Linked DNA regions of Homo sapiens: region 2 is linked to region 1. Evidence: promoter capture Hi-C in human tissues and cell types (Jung and others, 2019). All regions are on one chromosome and are shown on one strand. The core of a region is centred on a gene start or on the middle of the fragment in contact, and the rest is flanking DNA. Distances in the headings are between cores, read along the strand shown.

Evidence for each region. The method cuts DNA at HindIII sites, captures the fragments that hold promoters and counts their contacts. A contact is called where the count stands out against the background at its distance.
Region 2: a contact is called between a fragment that was not itself captured here and the fragment with the promoter of MORN1 in region 1, in 1 of the 25 tissues and cell types used here (neural progenitor cells).

What each region holds. Positions count from the first base shown.
Region 1 is chr1:2,390,050-2,392,938 of GRCh38, reverse strand. MORN1 (MORN repeat containing 1) reads left to right here and starts at 1,385. Exons shown (of 14, transcript NM_024848.3): 1 at 1,385-1,481. The coding sequence starts at 1,406. It overlaps RER1 (retention in endoplasmic reticulum sorting receptor 1), which reads right to left and starts at 1,098. Exons shown (of 7, transcript NM_007033.5): 1 at 981-1,098. RefSeq lists silencers at 813-1,112, 1,213-1,322, 1,453-1,522, 1,683-1,812 and enhancers at 354-1,226, 1,095-1,389. The HindIII fragment of the contact is 12,081 bases long and covers 1-2,889 here.
Region 2 is chr1:1,607,880-1,610,579 of GRCh38, reverse strand. No RefSeq gene overlaps it. Among named protein-coding and RNA genes, the nearest start is that of MIB2, 6.3 kb to the left of the region's middle. The HindIII fragment of the contact is 9,421 bases long and covers 1-2,700 here.

The sequences.
Region 1 (2,889 bases), core at 136-2,635:
TCACGCCTCTGGTGTTGTTCAGTCCTCTGAAATGCCCTCCCAGACCCCGTCTCTTCCTCCTTCCCAAGGCCACATTCCAGCCTGGGCTCCCCGCTCCTCTGGGCCTGACCATCTTATATCTCCACCTGGCTCTGACACACTGTTACCGCCGTCGCCGTCACCTCAGGCATACGGCAGAAGCCATGTGAGAGTCTGAATTACTGAGAACCCTTTATCCACTTACGGGGATAACTGCATCTTCCTGGGAAATGTCAACTCAACTAAAAATAAAGTGCTTCCAGGACTAGCGGCCAGTCTCTACTCTTCATAAAGGGAAAAGGGCAAAAGCCCACTGAAGGTACTTAGGCTGAAAGCAGCCCTCTGTGCTGTGAGACACCTGGCAGAGAAACGAACGATACCTTTATCAGTGGGGCCACAGACCAGTACTAAGTCAGCCTGGAGAATTTATGATTTTATTGCCTATTTAGAATACGATCAAAACCGATGTAACTAGTTTCCCTTCAGCCCGTCAGTAACGCCTTCACCCCAGAGCTTAACACTAAATCCTACAGATAAGCGCTGACCTGGACGCAGGATGGGGACAGGGCACATTACTCTGGAATACAGCCCAACTCGCAGCGCTGTGGGGGCCGCGACTGCCCGCTTCCCCCAGATGCCAAGCAGGGGATGCGGACGAGATGCGGCCCGGGTGGCTCGAGGGCTGCAGCCCCCGCCCGGCCCCTCTCCCGCTCCCCCGACCCTCGCAGGCCCCAGGGCTCCGCCGCACCCCCCAGCACCCCGTCCCGGGCCCGACCCCGAGGCGCGACCCGTACCCCTCAGGGCCGCGGGTCGGGAACACGGTCCCCGCGGCCACCCGGGCCCCGACGGCCCTCCCCGCCCGGCCCTCAGCGCGGCCCCGCCCGCCCGCGGCCTTGACAGCCCGGAAGAAGCGGAGGCGGCGCTGCCCGGCCGTTCCCGCGCCACGCAGCCCTTCCTGGCACCTCGCAGCTCCGCTACGGCCGAGCCGCGGTCTCCCTCACGGCCGCGGGAAGGAGGACGGCGGGGCACGGGCGGCCGCAGGCGCTGCGCTCCGGCTCCGGGAAGCTGCAGCGAGCACTTCCGCTCCGTCCTCCGCGGCGCCGCCTCCAGGGCCCCCAAGATGGCGCGAGGGCGGGGCCAAGGGCTCCAACCATTTCCGCTTCCGGCGCAGACGCGCAGGCCGTTGGCGGGCGGGCCTCCCGGCGGAAGAGACGACAGCGGCGGAAACGCGCACAGGCGCAGCTGCGTCCTCTGGCTCCGGGCCCGGCTAGCTTCGCTCCAGAGATTGCGCGGGCTCAGGGACTAGGCCCGTGGCCACACCCCCCCTTGCGACAAAGACCAATGGAAGCGGGCGTTGCTGGTCGCTAAGAGAACCCTCGGCGGCAAGATGGCAGCGGCGGGCGAGGGCACCCCGAGCTCCCGCGGGCCGCGTCGGGACCCGCCTAGGCGGCCGCCCCGGAACGGTAACGACTGCGGGCCACGGGACAGGTCGCTGGCTGCCCTGGGCTCCATTCAGGGTGCGATCGCTCTACGCCCTCGACCCCCAAATGCTCACCTCGGAAAGTAGAGGTCCAGGTGCCGCGGCGGAGCCAGGGCCGCCCCCGCGTCCCCCACTCCCACAGGACTCGCCGTGCGCCTCGGGCTCGGCTCGCACCCTTCCCCGAGCCCTCCTCCCGCAGCAGGCCAAGCCCTGCAGGGGGTCGCCCCCCGCGGGCTCCTAGCCGGGAAGACCGGGTTCCGGCCGCAGCCTCACAGCCAGCGGGACCTGGGGTTGCCATGGGGATCCCGAAGCCCAGGACTTGGGGCGAGGGCAGGCGCAGGAGCAGCACCAAGCCTCCTGACTTCCTGGCCGGTGCTGTCCAGAAACGCTAGGACGCGTTTCAAAAGCAGTTTTTGCCTGTACTTCCAGCACTTTGGGAGGCCGAGGCGGGTGGATCACCTGAGGTCAGGAGTTCGAGACCAGTGTGGCCAACATGGCGAAACCCGGTCTCTACTAAAAAATACAAAAATTGGCCCGGGGTGGTGCCTCCTGTAGTTCCAGCTACTCGGGAGGCTGAGGCAGGAGAATCGCTTGAACCCAGGAAGCGGAGGTTGCAGAGAGCCGAGATCGCGCCGCTGCACCCCAGCCTGGGCGACAGAGCAAGACTCAGTCTCAAAAAAAAAAAAAAGAGCAGGTTTTGATAGGAACTGTTTCTAGAATCAAATAAACGGGTCTGGAATGAACTCAGAGCTAACACTACTATCTTCAGGTAGAACCTGACCCTGATTTGGGACAGATACAGTAGCCTGTAGTAACCCCCTGCCCTCCTCCCCGACATTTTCCCATAAACCCTGCCCACAAAATGTGCCTGAGGAGCTGGTAGGGAGGGAGCCCTGCCCATTCCTGGAACTGCAGGAGTTGGCGGGTGGCACACCCAGCAACTAGGAGGAGATGAAGCCGGCCAGGCCATCCTTGGGTATGAGTGTGGATTTTCTCCCCAGCGATAGGAGGCCACTGAAGGGCCACGGCAGGGGATGGGAGAGTCTGCTCCTCCCCTGTGTGCCTCACTGACACTGCCGCTCTGCCTTCCCCTGGCTCACTCATCTCCTGCAACAAGGCTCCCAACCTGCTCCTCACCACCTCCCGAGCACCTCTGGTCTCTCAAGGACCTGCAGTTGTTTCAAGCCAGCCCTCCTCTTACTGGGCCTGTCTTCTCTGCACCAAGTAGGTCCTCATCCTTGTCACATAAACAAATGAGCAAATGAATGGCCCAACAGTCGACAGGAGAGCTCATGAGCCCCACAGGTCGCCTCTGGTCTGCTGAAGGTGACGTGTACCAACCCCTTGAAGGCCCTCAAGGGAGCTGCACTCCCTCCTTCAGCACTGGAGAG
Region 2 (2,700 bases), core at 64-2,563, 780 kb after region 1:
CCCACCTAAGCTGCTTTGAAGCAAAGAGCATAGGTGACGGGGACTTTGTGTTAGTCCATTCTCACGGTCTTACGAAGAACTGCCTGAGACTGGGTAATTTATAAAGGAAAGAGGTTTACCTGACCCACAGTTCCACGTGGCTCAAGAAACTTAACAATCACAGCAGAAGGGGAAGTAAACACATCCTTCACCTGGCTGCAGGAGAGAAACCTGCTGAGCAAAGGGGAAAAGCTCCTTATAAAACTACCAGATGTCCTGAGAACTCACTGTCACGAGAACAGCATGGGGGTAACTGGCCCCATGATTCAATTACCTCCCACCAGGTCCCTCCCACAACACGTGGGGATTGTGGGAAATGCAAGATGAGATTTGGATGGGGACACAGCCAAACTGTATCAGGCTTGTTGCAGGAGTTGGCATTCATCTGGAGGTGAAGACGGCCCTTGTCAGGCAAGCGTCCTCGTGCAGGCAGCTTAGCGGCAGTACTGTGGTTTTGAGAAATTCCGTAGTTTCTTTCCTGGCACACCTGGGAGAGCCCGTCCTTCGTGGCCTCCTGGCTCCATTTTTCAGGGTTTGACATAAGTGACTCCATTTTGGTACTGGCCACTTTTGCACTGGAGATCCACAGATAATGTCTTCCAGGCTGAGGTCTGTCACTCCCACAGGTGCACGGCTGAGCTAACTGCCACGTGTGTGGCCTTAGGCCCCTCAGCAGCCAGGACAATATGTTTTTTCTTTTTTCTTTTCTTTTTTTTTTTTTGAGACAGAGTTTCCTTCTTGTTGCCCAGGTGGGATTGCAGTAGCGCAATCTTGTCTCACTACAACCTCCACCTCCTGGGTTCAAGTGATTCTCCCGCCTCAGCCTCCCGAGTAGTTGGGACTACAGGCGTGCATCACCACAACCAGCTAATTTTTGGATTTACTATTAATACAGATGGGGTTTCACCATGTTGGCCAGGCTGGTCTTGAACTCCTGACCTCAAGTGATCCACCTGCCTCGGCCTCCCTAAGTGCTGAGATTACAGACGTGAGCCACCGCACCTGGCCGGTACCTTTTTTTTTTTTTTTTTGAGACAGAGTCTCACTGTGTTGCCCAGGCTGGAGTGCAGTGGCACTATCTTGGCTCACTGCAACCTCCGCCTCCCAGGTTCAAGTGATTCTTCTGCCTCAGCCTCCAGAGTAACTGGGACTACAGACGCGTGCCAGCACGCCTGGCTAATTTTTGAGTTTTTGCAGTAGAGACGGGATTTCACCATGTTGGCCAGGCTGGTCTTGAACTCCTGACCTCAAGTGATACACCCACCTTGGCCTCCAATAGTGCTGGGATTACAGGCGTGAGCCACTGCGTCCGGCCGGTACCTACTTTTTTTTTTTTTTTTTTTTGAGACAGAGTCTCGCTCTGTCACTCAGGCTAGAGTGCAGTGGCACGATCTCGGCTCACTGTAAGCTCCGCCTCCTGGGTTCATGCCATTCTCCTGCCTCAGCCTCCTGAGTAGCTGGGACTACAGGCGCCCGCCACCACGCCCAGCTAATTTTTTTGTGTATTTTTTGTAGAGACGGGGTTTCACCATGTTAGCCAGGCTGGTCTTGATCTCCTGACCTCATGATCTGCCCGCCTCGGCCTCCCAAAGTCTTGGGATTACAGGCATGAGCCACCGTGCCCGGCCGCAGTTACCTACTTTTATAACATATTTGTGGACCAGATTTGGCCCCTGAATGAAAATCAAATGATTAAGGAAATCAATGACTATTTTCAGCAATATGGTAAGTCAGGTCACCTGCAAGATCTTCTCAATGAAACAATAAAAGATCTGTATAATGTGTTTTATTGGTATTATTATTATTATTTTTGAGACAGGGTCTCACTCTGTTGCCCAGGTTGGAGTACAGAGGCGCAATCATGGCTCACTGCAACCTTGACCTCCCGGGCTCAAGTGATTCTCCTTCCTCAGCCTCCTGAGTAGCTGGGATTACAGGCTCGTGCCACCACATCCAGCTAATTTTTTTTTGGTACATTTTGTAGAGACAGGGGTCTCGCTGTGCTGCCCAGACTAGTCTCCAACTCCTGACATCAAGCAATCTGCCTGCCTCAGCCTCCCAAAGTGCAGGAATTACAGGCATGAGCTGCCGCGCCCGGCCTATTTTTTAATTATTTTTTAGAGATGGGGATCTTGCTCTGTTCCCCAGGCTGGAGTGCAGGGGTGCAATCATAGCTCACTGCAGCCTCAAACTCCTAGGCTCAAGGGGTCCTCCCGCCTCAGCCTCCCAAGTAGTTGGGACTACGGGTGTGAGCCACTGTGCCTGGCAAACAATCTGTATAAAATATGGAAAGCACAGGAGGCTGAGGCAGGAGAATGACTTGAACCCGGAAGGCAGAGGTTGCAGTGAGCCAAGATTGCACCACTGCACTCCAGCCTGGGTGACAGAGCAAGACTCCATCTAAAAAAAAATACATATATATATAATTATATATATTATACATACATTATATATAATACATATTATATATATACATATATAATATATAGTACATATATTATATATATATATGGAAAGCATTGTTTAAAATCCATGACTGAGCTGACACACAGTAAGGAAGGGAAGAGCGGCCTTGAAACAGAAAACCTGGAGCACAGGAAGAGGAGGCCCGAGGGGAGTGCACGTCAGGCTTGGACTCATGGAGGGATCCGTATTCTCTCC